2 separate regions of the Homo sapiens genome follow, and region 2 is linked to region 1. The links are contacts of gene promoters, found by promoter capture Hi-C in human tissues and cell types (Jung and others, 2019). All regions are on one chromosome and are shown on one strand. The core of a region is centred on a gene start or on the middle of the fragment in contact, and the rest is flanking DNA. Distances in the headings are between cores, read along the strand shown. Region 1 holds the start of ZNF136 (zinc finger protein 136). Region 2 holds the start of ZNF44 (zinc finger protein 44).

The links. Contacts are between HindIII fragments. The study calls those that stand out against the background at their distance.
Region 2: the fragment with the promoter of ZNF44 here is called in contact with the fragment with the promoter of ZNF136 in region 1 in 2 of the 25 tissues and cell types used here (IMR-90 fibroblasts and adrenal gland).

The regions. Positions count from the first base shown.
Region 1 is chr19:12,159,438-12,166,309 of GRCh38, reverse strand. ZNF136 (zinc finger protein 136) reads right to left here and starts at 3,214. Exons shown (of 4, transcript NM_003437.5): 1 at 3,104-3,214. The coding sequence starts at 3,106. RefSeq lists enhancers at 3,114-3,273, 3,284-3,373. The HindIII fragment of the contact is 18,447 bases long and covers 1-6,028 here.
Region 2 is chr19:12,291,474-12,298,345 of GRCh38, reverse strand. It overlaps ZNF44 (zinc finger protein 44), which reads left to right and starts at 3,463. Exons shown (of 4, transcript NM_016264.4): 1 at 3,463-3,654. The coding sequence starts at 3,652. RefSeq lists an enhancer at 3,079-3,128 and a silencer at 3,679-3,908. The HindIII fragment of the contact is 22,646 bases long and covers 1-6,872 here.

The DNA.
Region 1 (6,872 bases), core at 1,965-4,464:
ATACTACACATGATCTGGGAAAGAATAAAAGAAAATAAGAATTTGTTGTTAAGCAGTTTAAATTTTTTTTCTTTTTTTTTTTGAGACGGAGTCTTGCTCTGTCACCCAGGCTGGAGCACAATAGCATGATCTCAACTCACTGCAACTTCCACTTCCTGGGTTCAAGTGATTCTCCTGCCTCAGCCTCCTGAGTACCTGGGATTATAGGCGCCCACCACCACACCTGGCTAATTTTTGTATTTTTAGCAGAGACGAGTTTTCACCAGGTTGGCCAGGCTGGTCTCAGACTCCTGACCTCAGGTGATCCACCTGCTTCAGCCTCCCAAAGTGCTGGGATTACAGGCGTGAGCCACCGCACCCAGCCAGCAGTTTAAATTTTATTGACCTTCCAGTTTCTTTTAAAAAGTTTAAGGTCACACCGCTAAGTCTGACGTGCTACATACAGATGGTGCAGAATATGAGTATGAAGAGATACACATTGGTCCATGTCCCAAAAGATTACAGAATCATCTCCATAAATACACAAAAGAATTATTGTGAAGACACAAGGGCACTGTCCAGGTTTTCTAAGACACTTTTCTAAGTGACTTGAGGCATAAAATCCACACCACTGTGAACACACACATTGTAGACTTTGTGTCTCTGACACAGACCATCAAAGATTTGGCATCATGACTCTCAAATGTACTGGAATGAGATTCTGCTTCTTAGGTAAAAAGCCACAGCACCTACACATATCATGCAGATAATTACTCCAAAATATGGAGAAATACAGATACAAGCCGTTGAAAATAAGAATTTTTAAAATGTGGAATATAAGACTAATCTCTTTCCCCCTGAAATCTACCTCTTGGGAAATACATTATCTTCTCTATGAAGCTCTACTGATAAAATGCACTTTCAACTAAATGAAATACTCAAGCTGAACTTGTTGTTAAGGCAAGAATCCCAGGGAGAAGCAGTGCTGACCTGGAATACAGACATTCGTCTGACTCCAGTGTCAGCAGAGGTCATCTTATCTATCAGTTGGAACATCCCTCTACCCCCATAGTGCTCACTGAAATGCTCAGTGACCACCCGCCCAAGAGACACTGCATTACGCGACACTGTGTACCCAAAGTGCATTTTGTTTTTCAGGTTATTCCACCACCTCGCTGAGATAGTTTTTCTCCCTTCACAAGGCTGAGAGAATACAAAGGACAGGAATCATTTCCGTCTTTTCCCTTGTCGACCTAAAAAGTAGAGGCTGAAACACAAAATATGACCCAAAGTGTCTGAAAAAGGGGGACAGGATGTGGGCTGATACAAAGTTGTTTGTCAGGAATTCTCACTGATTTACAGAAGTAACATTGATAAGCGCGTGGCTATGCACTGTTAAGCTATAGGGTGTGGGTTCCAGGGTCCCGTGTTGCATTAGTAAGTTGATTATACCTACTTGTGGCAATAGCAGTTTCAAAAGATGAATTCATAGCTTCAGGGAGTTAGAAGGTGATTGCTGTATCACTTGAATGTCTCTATGTGCCCGTTCATTTAAAAGGACCCACATTTATCAGACGAAAATTATTTTTTTGAGGCCGGGTACAGTTACGCCTGTAATCCCAGCACTCTGGGAGGCCAAGGCAGGCGGATCGCGAGGTCAGGAGATCAAGACCATCCTGGCTAACAAGGTGAAACTCCGTCTCTACTAAAAACACAAAAAATTAGCCGGGCGTGGTGGCATGCGCCTGTAGTCCCAGGTACTGGGGAGGCTGAGGCAGGAGAATCGCTTGAATCCGGGAGGCAGAGGTTGCAGTGAGCCGACATCACGCCACTGCACTCCAGCTTGGGCGACAGAGAGACTCCGTCTCAAAAAAAAAAAAAAAAAAAAAAAGTTATCTGGGAGTGGTGGCGCAAAACTGTGGTCCCAACTACAGGGGAGGCTGAGGCAGGAGAATCGCTTGAACCCAGAAGATGGAGGTTGCAGTGAGCCGAGATCACGTCACTGCACTCCAGCCTAGGCGACAGAGCGAGACTCTTTCAAAACACACAAAAAATTTTCTTTTCTCAATCCTCAATACCAGCATCTGATTGGCTGACCACCAGTGTGTCTCCAAAGGATGGAAACTGGGGTTGGGGGAGGAAAAGCTGAGTGCCCCCAGAGGTTGGCTATTTAGAAGCAGGGTATGCTAGATTTATCCTAGTCCCAGGGCATTCTCCCAGCCTTCTATTTCAACTGTCCTCTAGGAAGACTCACCCAAGACCCAATATTCACTAGATCCTCCAAGAGACTTGGCAGCTGTGGGCAGCTTGAGTCAGCCCCAGACAGTTTTGAAACCCAGAACCAGGAAAAAATAAATAGGAGGGGGCGCTGAAGGCATATCACCCTGTAAAGATTCCAAAGGGGAACCTCAACTCAAAGACATTCTGATGAGGTATCTGTGCATAGAGGAGACAAAAGGACAAGCACAAAGGTTTCTTACAGCGGAGTGTCAAGGCTATGAACAGAAAACAAACCTTGATGAAAGAGTAATCCATTGCTTTGTTGAAAAATAAACAATGAAAGCACAATATCTGAAATGTAGAATATAGGAGAAACGGTTGCTAATGTCGTGAATGGAAGGGGAGAGGTTGGCGTTTGGAAAAGCGAAAAGAGAACAGGAAATTTGGGGATTTACTGCAAGCCCTGGAAACAGCAGGCTGGGGGACAGAGTGAGGATTTGGGACCCTGCATCCCATACACTTAGAAAACTCAGGGAAAAACGGGTGTCCTCTGTGGAGAGAAAAGGAACTGGGAACCTCATACACCACAGCTCCTTCCACGCACAAGTCAGGATTTCCCCCACCCCATGACCCTCGCGTGGGCCCCGCACAATCTGAAGAGACTTGGGTCTTCGGGGCCGGGGCCGCAATCGCGGCACAGGGCGGGACGAGGACGCCCGGGGTCCCGGCTGCCGGCCCAGCCCCACCCTGAGGCCGAGGGTACCAAGGGCTGAGCTGCGCCAGAGGGACTCGGTACGCAGACCCAGAGTCGCCCACGGGAAGGCCCGGGCCGCGCCACAGCCAGTTCCGGTCGTCCAACCAGCCCCTCCTCCCTGTCTCGGGACGCAGGGCCCGACACACTCACCATTTCCTGACTCCCGGGTGTCCCAGCTTCCTCCCTCCGGATCCCAAGGCAGGTACAGGAAACCGCGCCACAGAGACTCCAGGCGAGCCACTCTGGGCCTCTGGGACTAGCGAAGCGAAACCAAGTACGGCAGACGCGAGAAATGAAAATCCCGCGAGAAGGTTGAACGTCTGCAGCTGCGTCCCCGACGGCGCGCCTGATTGGACCGATCGCAGAGCTCCTCCCCGGTGCCCCTGATTGGGTACAGCTTCGGGCTCTGCCCCCTGCATCTTGACAGATGTGAATGACAGGAGATGTGAAGCATAGATGAGTGAAGCGGGAATGAGGGGTCTTGGCCCCAGCCCTCAAACGCAGGGTGGACTTCTTCCCCTCGTCCCCTTCACTGTACTTGGTCTGCGGGGGATGGGGAGATGGGAGATACTTGCATTTTAGCAGAACTTAATCCGGGTTTACCAAAGGAGATACTTCCTGTACTCAGTGGGTCATTTCTTCATCTACCTCTTGCATGAGGAGTCACAGGTGTGCGCAGGGAGTTCCAGGCAGGACTGGAACAGAAGAAAGGGCGTGATATTCCCAGGGATCGGAAATTTGGGATGAGGATATGGGAAGCGTGCCCAAGGCTTTCTCATACCATACCTCTTTATCTCTCTCTATTTTTTACTTTATTTACTTATTTATTACTTTATTTACTTATTTATTACTTTATTTATTTATTTGAGACAGGGTCTAGCTCTGCCACCCAGGTTAGAGTGCAATGGCATGATCATAGCTCACTGCAGCCTCCATCTCCTGGGTTCAAGCGAACCTTCCGCTTCAGTCCCCTGAGTAGTAGAGACTACAGGTACATGCCACCAAGCCCGGCAAATTCTTTAATTTTTTGTAGAGACGGGATTTCGTTTGTTGTCCAGGCTGGTCTTGAACTCCTAGCCTCAAGTGAACCTCCCACTTTCGCCTCCCAAATCAATCTACTCATTTTCACCCAAGAAAATAAAAAACTGCCAACAAGTGAATAAAATTATTAAATACATGGAAAAACAAGTTCTATTTCCGTAATCTGTAAAGAAATCAAAAGGGAAGTAAAGCGAAAATTTGAACTAGCTCAGATAAGCAGGGCACTTCAGAACATTTAAAAAGGAAAAGATGAATTCAGAAGGTAGAACATATTCCCAAGCTTAAGAGTCAGTGACTGCTGAAGTGGAGCCACAGAGTACATTAGACCCTGATGATGAGGCAGGAAACCTAAGGATTTAACTCTGGGAGCTCAACATGCCCTCCTGTCACAGCATCACAATGTGGGAACGCTCCCTCCTTCAATACCTTAATAATTTACACCAGCAGAAAACTCTCACCTGTGGTCAATTTAGGCCCCTTGAAATTCCAACCTCTCTAGCTCATAAACCATTTCTCTGGAACGCTACCTAAATGAGTCTCTAAATATGATCTTTACATATTTTCTTCATATATACAAATTACAGCCTGACTGCAGCAACTCTATACATAGAAAAATCAAGGCCGGGCACAGTGGTTCATGCCTGTAATCCCCAACACTTTGAGAGGCCGAGGCGGGCGGATCACTTGAGGTCAGGAGTTCAAAACCAGCCTGGCCAAGATGGCGAAACCCCGTCTCTACTAAAATTACAAAAATTAGCCGGGCGCCTATAATCCCAGCTTCTGGGGAGGCTGAGGCACAAGAATCGCTTGAACCCGGGAGGTAGAGGTTCCAGTGAGCCGAGATCGCGCCACTGCACTCCAGCCTGGGTGACAGAGCAAGACTCCGTCTCAAAAAACAAAAAGTTTTCCGGAAAACTACCTTGGGAAACTAGAGGTACAACCTCAGAAAGGAGAGAAACCCGCACGTGCATTTGCCTGTGAAGTTCCTGCTTTCCAGGGCTCTGCAGCTTCTCAGAATCCACACTCCTGGAGCTGGAGCTGGAGCTGTTCGGAGCAGCTGGAGACTACCTACAGGGGAAGGCAGGCTGCCCAGGAAGCAATCGGGGGAGCTCCCTTTCCCTCCCTTTGCAGGCTCCAGATTAGTCTCAGTGTGGATCACCGGCCTCAGGCTATGCTGCCCCCTGCAAGTTTTCCACCTGCTTTTCACCCACATTGTTCAGTTCCACGAGGCAAACACCCTCAATCCCAGTGTTCGAAAGAGAATCCAGCAGAGTCCCTGCTTTCCTCCTGTGTTTACCGTAAAGTAGAAGAGAAAAATTTCAAGACAGTTTTAAGTGGATTTTAAAACTGGCAAATAATTATTCCTTTGATAAAATGAAGAAGCCAGCAAACTATTATTTCGACATTAACAAACTGTTATATAAAACCACTAATGAAGGTCGGGCGCGGTGGCTCACGCCTGTAATCTCAGCACTTTGGGAGGGCGAGGCGGGCGGATCACCTAAGGTTAGGAGTTCGAGACCAGCCTGACCAACATGGAGAAACCTCGTCTCTAAAAGTACAAAATTAGCCAGGCGTGGTGGCGCGTGCCTGTAATCCCAGCTACTCAGGAGGCTGAGGCAGGAGAATCGCTTGAACCTGGGAGGCGGAAGTTGCCGTGAGCTGAGATCACACCATTGCACTCCAGCCTGGGCAACAAGAGCAACACGGTGAAACTCTGTCTCTACTAAAATACAAAAAATTAGCTGGGCGTGGCAGTGTGCGCCTGTAGTCCCAGCTACTCGGGAGGCTGAGACAGGAGAATTGCTTGAACCCCAGAGGCAGAGGTTGCAGTGAGTTGAGATCGCGCCACTGCACTCCAGCCTGGGCGACAGAGCGAGACTCCGTCTCCAAAAAAAAAAAAAAAAACTAATGAAATATGGACTCTCTTCTGCTTCAGCAGCTCCCTGACCTTCACAGTTGATGGTTGTCACCAGGTGCTCTGTGTCAGGAGATGTACATGTGCAGTTTAGCCATTGAAAATTCTCTCTTAAATCGGGCGCGGTGGCTGCGCTAGGGGGACTCCAGTCCACCGGTCCCGAAGTCGCCCCGGACAGGCCTGGGTCCCGTCACAGCAGGTTCCTGTCCAGCACCTTGCTCCACAGTCTCGGGACATCCCCCCAGCACTCACCATTTCCTGGCTTCTGAGGTGTCTATGGTTCTCCTTATGTCTTTCGTGTTCATTGCAAGTCACAGCTGGAAAGAAGCTGCAGCGAAGCCACCTCTGGTGCTTCTCAGAGCAGCATAGACCTGACACCCACTGTGGGCGGGTGAAAGGAACGCCTCGCAGTTTTATGGAGCTTCGCGGCCTCCTCCCAGAGCCGCGCCTGATTGGACAATTTGCACAGCCACACCCCCCCGCCCCTCCTGATTGGACAGTGCCACGGGCCCCGCCTTCTGGGAGGCGGAGTGAGAGGAGAATTTAACACCTGGCTGAGTGGAGCTTGAATGAAAGGTTCTAGGCCCGACATGTGGCTCACACCTATACAATCCCAGGACTCGGGGAGGGCTGGAAAGGAGAACTGCTTGAGGCCAGGAGTTCAAGACCAGCTTGAGCAACGTAGTGAGACCTCATCTCTAAAAAAAAAAGAAAAAAAAAAAAAATTAGCCCAGCCTGGTGGCCCTGCAACTATAGTCCCAGCTACTTAGCAGGCTGAGTAAAGAGGATTGCTTGAACCTTGAAGGTAGAGGCTGCAGTTAGCTATGATCAGCGCACTGCACTCCAGCCTAGGTGACAGAGTAACACCCTGTCTCGAAAAAAAAAAAAAAGAAAAGAAAAGAAAAGAAAAATATAGATTCTAGCCACAGCCGGATTTCCTCCTTGCACTGCAGCCTGGCC
Region 2 (6,872 bases), core at 2,214-4,713, 130 kb before region 1:
TTCTCCTGCCTCAGCCTCCCGAGTAGCTGGGACTACAGGCGCCCGCCACCACGCCCGGCTAATTTTTTTGTATTTTTAGTAGAGATGGGGTTTCCCCGTGTTGGCCAGGATGGTCTCAATCTCCTGACCTCGTGATCTGCCCGCCTTGGCCTCCCAAAGTGCTGGGATTACAGGCGTGAGCCACCGCGCCCCACCATGCCCAGCTAATTTTTGTATTTTTAGTAGAGACGGAGTTTCACCATACTGGCCAGGCTGATCTCCAACTCCTGAACTTGTGATCCGCCTGCCTCGGCCTCCCAAAGTGCTAGGTGATAGGATATCTCTCTTTCTCTCTCTCTCTCTCTCTCTCTCTCTCTGTGTGTGTGTGTGTGTGTGTGTGTGTCTTTGTGTGATTTTTGAAGGCAAGAGTATCATTTATTTGTTAGCTATAATCAGATATCATTTCTTTTCCTTATTTTCCAAACATGCCCATTTTTCCTGTCTGGAAACACTACCATTTTTACAAATTGAATAAAGATTTTATTTCATCGAATGACACCTGATGTTTGACTCCTTTCTTTTTTAGCCATTAGTTCCAGCTTCCAGTTCATGGTGGTTTTAGGTTTTCTACTTTTGCTTCATAGAAATATGGGGAAACCCTCATGTTTTCAAATTCATTCCCTAATGTTTCGGCTTCCGATTGGAGCTTTTAAGTCATTAACATTTAAAGTCTTGAAGGAAAGAGTGTTTCTACACTGTGCAGAGGAGGGCAAGTTGAGCTCCCAGAGTTAAATCCTTCAATGTCTCTCCCTCATCATCAGGTGCTGATCCACTCTGGGGCTCCATTTCAGGAGTCAAGAGTCTGGCTCTCAAGCTCGGGAATCTGTTTAACTTCCTGAAAGGGGGTTTCCTGCTTACTTCCCTGAACGAGATATTTTTTCTTTTCTTCTCTTCTGATTCCTTTAATAGAATACATGCTGTCAGGCCAGGTGTGGTGGCTCATGCCTGGAATCCCAGCACTTTGGAAGGCAGAGGCAAGCAAATAAACCTGAGGTAAGGAGTTCAACACCAGCCAGGCCAACATGGTGAAACACTATCTCTACTAAAAAAACAAAAATTAGCTGGGCATGGTGGTGTGCACCTGTAGTCTCAGCTACTCGGGAGGCTGAGGCAGGAGAATCGCTTGAACCTGGGAGTCGGAGGTTGCAGTGGGCCGAGATCGCGCCACTACACTCAAGCCTGGGCAACAGAGTGAGACTCTATCTCAAAAACAACAACAACAAAAACAAAAACAACAAAATAAAACAAAAAAAAAACAACCATGCTGCCCTATAATTCCAGTTTTTTCACACATTTAACAATTTCATTTCATTGTTGATGTGTTTTTATTTTCTGGGATGAAAATGAATAGATCGCAAAAAAATTATATCAGTGAGAAAATTATGGCAGTGGAAGAGATCTGAGCCAACACCCGTTCTGCCCCGCCCCGCCCCCCGCCCCTGCCAACCCTCTGTCTTCTCTTTCCCTTAATCCTGGGCTCTTAGGCACAGCTAACTTTGGAAGATAGCTTAAATGATAATAAGCCTTCCCCAAAACTCAACTGCCTTTGTAAAACGAATGAATGGCCATCAGGCTGAGGGATGAAAGGAATCGGAATGCTGCTAAAGTGTAGACATAGATTGCCAGCTATTTCTGCAGATAACACCACTATTGTAGATTAGCATTTGTAGACGTATTTTCAGTTTTTGTTTGTTTGTTTGTTTTTTTTTTGCATGTCTGACACCACCTGCACCTGCCAACTCTGCTCCTGTGGCCCCAACCAGAAGTGATTCAGCATAACAGGATAGGTTTTTTTTTTTTTTGTCTTTTTTTTGTTTTTTTTTGAGACGGAGTTTCGCTCTTGTTGCCCAGGCTGGAGTGCAAAGGCACGATCTCGGCTTGGCGCGATCTCAGCTCACCGCAACCTCCACCTCCCGGGTTCAAGTGATTCTCCCGCCTTAGCCTCCCAGGTAGCTGGGATTACAGACATGTGCCACCACGCCCAGCTAATTTTGTATTTTTAGTAGAGACGAGCTTTCTCCATGTTGGTCAGGCTGGTCTCAAACTCCCGACCTCAGGTGATCCGCCCGCCTGGGCCTCCCAAAGTTCTGGGATTACAGGTGTGAGCCACCGGGCCCGGCCTCTTTTTTTCTTTTTTAAATATGTAGCAGTACAAGCCGCAGACAAGAACCCCTCAGACACCGAGTTGTGGAAGGAAAGGGCTTTATTCAGCTGGGCTGGGAGCATCGGCGGACTCACGTCTCCAAAAACCGAGCTCCCCGAGTGAGCAATTCTTGTCCCTTTTAAGGGCTTACAACTAGGAGTCCGCGTGAGAGGGTCGTGATTGATGGAGCAAACAGTGGGTACGTGACTGGGGGCTGCATGCACCGGTAACCAGAACTGAACAGAACAGGACAGGGATTTTCACAGTGCTTTTCCATACAATGTCTGGAATCATAGATAACACAGTTAGGTCAGAGGTTGATTTTTAACTACCCAGCCCAGGGCACAAGCCGGGTTATCTGCCTGTGGATTTCATTTCTGCCTTTTAGTTTTTACTTCTTCTTTGGAGGCAGAAATTGGGCATAAGACAATATGAGGGGTGGTCTCCTCCCTTATAGTATAGAGACGGAGTTTCACTCTATGTCCAGGCTGGTCTTGAACTACTGGCCTCAAGCGATCCTCCCACCTAGGCCTCCCAAAGTATTGGGATTACAGCGGTGAGCCACCACGCACTGCCAAGAGGACAGATTCCATCCCCAGTGATTTCATCCCCACCCCAACCAGTCAGTAGCAAGCCTAGCTACCTCCACCCTTTCTCCCAAACTGCCCTTGAAAAACCCCTACCAGAGGACCTTGGATGAGAATAATTTGAGTAGTAACTCCGTCTCTCACGTATCGTAGCTGGCCTAGTGTTTATTAAACTTTTTTTTTAACTGCAATACCGTGGTCTTTATTTGCGTAGCGCGCAGAAAGAACCCATCCAGCGCTTATAGTGGAAGAAAGGCTTGACCTTGCAGGCGACAGCCTCATCCCAAATTCCTGGTCCCTGGAGGACATCAGCACCACCCCCCCACCCACCCACCCCCTGTCCCCCGCTGCTACAGTGTGGCCTGTGTGGCCTCGGCTGCCCTCCTGCTCTGAGGCCAAGGGATGGCTCCACTGGACAGTGAGTCTGGGATTCCTTGCACACAATTGTTCAGGAGGAAGAAGCAAAAAGGGCCCACTGCGTACAGGTAGGAAATTCCGCTTTAAGGCAAACGTTTCCCGGGACGGGTCGGGTCACAACGCAGGGAGGAAGCCCGCCCTGCCAGGGGCCGGGTCTGGAACCTGTTCATCCGGCTGCACTCAGCACTGTGAGATCGCTTCTTCTGTCACTCAGTGCCCAGGAGGCGGGACCTGGAGGGCTACCCAATCAAAGTCGTGGGCGGGTTCCTGAGAATTGTCAATCAGGCGCGAGGCAGAGAGGAGGGTGTGACGTTCCAGGAGCTAGTGGCCTCTTCACCCTGGTGACCTCTGTTCCGTATTCTGTCACTGAGAGACGCCCTGGGACATCTGTGGTGGCTTTTGTCGCGCTGGGACCTACCCTGACTACGGGAGTTGGGAGGACCCGGGACACCGCACAGCCGGGAAATGGTGAGTGTGCGGGGCCCGGCGTCCTGAGGCAGGGCGAAGGGCTGGTCGGAACCAGTCGGAACCGGCTGTGGCGGGACCCGGGCCTCGCCGCAGCGTCTTTGGGGTCTGGGACCTGAGCGCCCCCTGCGCACCTCGGTCCTCGGTCCGTTTGGCCGCAGGGTGGGGCTGGGCCGGCAGCCGGGACCCCGGGCGTCCTGTCCCGTCCCTGAGCTGCGACTGCGGCCCCGGCCCCGGCGCCCCTCTCTGGGCAGCTCCGCGCCCTCAGCCCCGCTTCTCCCCAGATTGTGCGGCGGAACCAGTACAGGTTCGCAGCCCAAGTCACTGCACCCGGACGCCGAGGGCTGCAGCAGAAACGGTTTAATAGGAGAGGACACCCTAGATCCGCCTCCGTGAGAGGTTTGAGGATGGGGTGTTTAGGGGTCTGGACGGGGGTGGTTGGGATGTGGGGTCGCTGGTTGGTGGAGAAGTGAGGGGTGAATCTTGGGACTGGAGGTGAAGAAACCGCATTCTGCTGCTGAGTGGGCTTCCTTGTGGGGTCTTCAGCCTGCTTGGCGCCAGCCTTTCCGCTGGAATTCAAGATCTGAGAAAGAACTTAGACGACTCTTGAGCAACTCTCAGAGATCTTATCCCCAGGCCAATGGGGAAGCCGGCGGTCAGCGTCTGCTGTGACCTGACTCTCAGGGAGGCGGCTTCCTGTGAAGCAGCGGGGCTGAGGGCACCTGGTTAATATCTAACTGCAATCTCGCCTCCAGCCTGGCTCGCAGTTCCTGTGAGCCCGGTGAGGAGGCTGCACGGTGACGGTGGGAGGGTCACTAGGCACAAACCAGACTCGTGTGTGGGGTTTGTGTGTGGGAGGAGCTGTGGTCTCTGTGCTCTTCAGTCCTTTCTTTCCAAGGGCGACCATTTCTCCTCCGAGGCTTTCAAAGATATTGGCATCAGGGTCTTTGAGACCTGTCCCTTCATCCTAACTCCTCTTGGGGCTAACAGTAAATCTTTTGGTTTCCAGAGCCTTCCATATGCTAACTTCACTCCTCAATTCCCAGTAACGTTATGAACCCTTTGTCAGCAAGACGATATTTCAAATAGACACAGAATTTTGTCGTTTGTTTTCAGATAGCAATGTATGGCTCTTTTTAAACAGATTTATTTTGTTTTCCTTAACATTTCACATGTGAGGAAGAAGAGAATAACCACCTGACACTGCTGTAAAAAAAACCAAACCTTTGTGCCTCTTTTATCTCCCCTAGGCACAGATGCCTTCTCAGTATGTCCTTTACAGGGTGATGTGACCTCAGCCCACCCTGTATCTTTTCCAGGCCCTGTGTTATGGAACTTTCTGGGGCTACCCTAAGATGCTGGAAGCTGCCAATCTCATGGAGGGCCTAGTGGATATCGGCCCTTGGGTCACTCTTCCCAGAGGACAGCCTGAGGTGTTGGAGTGGGGCCTCCCAAAGGATCAGGTGGATGCACTGGGGTGGGAGGAATCTTCTGGTATATCATTCCTGTAAAAAGCTAACCCCTGGGCTGGGCGCGGTGGCTCACGCCTGTAATCCCAGCACTTTGGGAAGCCGAGGCGGGCGGATCACCTGAGGTCAGGGGTTCAAGACCACCCTGGCCAACATGGTGAAACCCCATCTCTACTGAAAATACAAAAATTAGCCGGGCATGGTGGCAGGTGCCTGTAATCCCAGCTACATGGGAGGCTGAGGCAGGAGAATCACTTGAACCTGGGAGGTGGAGGTTGCAGTGAGCCGAAATCACAATCATGCCATTGCACTCCAGCCTGGGCGACAAGAGGGAAACTCTGTCTCAAAAAAAAAAAAAAAAAAAAAAAAACCTAACCTCTGGGACATTGACATTTTTTTCCCCAAGCCTAGTTTCCATTCCTTGGTGACGCATGGCTTATCAGAAAATTGGATGGTGTTATTCAGGGGACAAGACAAATGATTTCTGCCTTCTGGACTCTCTCCGACTGTGAAGCTAGAAAACTGTTTCTAAAAACTGAAAAACCCACCCAATGAGGTTTTGCATGAGCCTGAAAAAGACATAAGGCAGTGTCTCCTAGGAATGTGGTTGCTGAGCACTTCAATGAGCACCGTGGGGCTGGCGGATGTGCCAGGTGATAGAACGACCTGACCTGACGGTTGAGTGAGACTTGTCTGTGTTCCAGTCAGTTCTGCCCCACCCTGGGTTAGTTACCCTGAAAAGATTTGTTCAGTTATTTCCAATTTAATTTTTTATTAACTGTAAAGGGCATCCTATCATTAGAGATTATAGAGAAGATAAAGTGTTTCTAAAGAGGCCAGAAAGAGTTGGAATTCAGAAAACAAATTATATATATGTAGTTTTCTATTCCTTTTTTTTATTATTTTTATTTTTTATAAGACAGGGTCTCCCTCTGTTGCCCAGGCTGGAGTGTAGTGGCACCATCATGGCTCACTGCAGCTTAGGCAGCCTAGACTGCCTGGGCTCAGCCTCCGGAGTAGCTGGGAATGCCCACCATGCCCTACTAATTTTTGAGTATTTTGTAGTGATGGGGTTTCCTCATGTTGCCAGGCTGGTCTTGAAGTCCCGGGCTCAAGTGATCCTCCTGCCTTGGCCTCCCAAAGTGCTGGGATTACAGGCATGAGCCACTGGACCCAGGCCCTATTCCATTTTTTAAAAACTTTTTTTCTTTTCTTTTCTTTTTTTTTTTTTTCTGAGATGGAGTTTCACTATATTGCCCAGGCTGGAGTGCAATGGTACTATCTTGGTTCACTGCAACCTCTGCCTCCCAGGTTCAAGCAATTCTCCTTCCTCAGCCTCCCGAATAGCTGGGATTACAGGAACATGCCACCATGCCTGGCTAATTTTGTATTTTTAAGTAGAGACAGGGTTTCACCTTGCTGGCCAGGCTGGTCTTGAACTCCTGACCTCAGGTGATCCTCCCGCCTCGGCCAATGAAAGTTCTGGGATTACAGGTGTGAGCCACTGCACGCAGCCTTTTTCTTTTTTTTTTGAGACATGGTCTCCCTCTATCACCCAGGAGTGCTGTGGTACGATCTCAGCTTACTGCAACCTCTGCCTCCAGGGCTCAAGAGATCCTTCCACCTCAGCATCCCAAGTAGCTGCGACTACAGGCGTGCGCCACCACACCTGGCTAATTTTTGTATTTTTGGTAGAGATGGGGTTTCACCGTGTCGCCCAGGCTGGAGCATTTTTAAAAAACTTTTATTTAC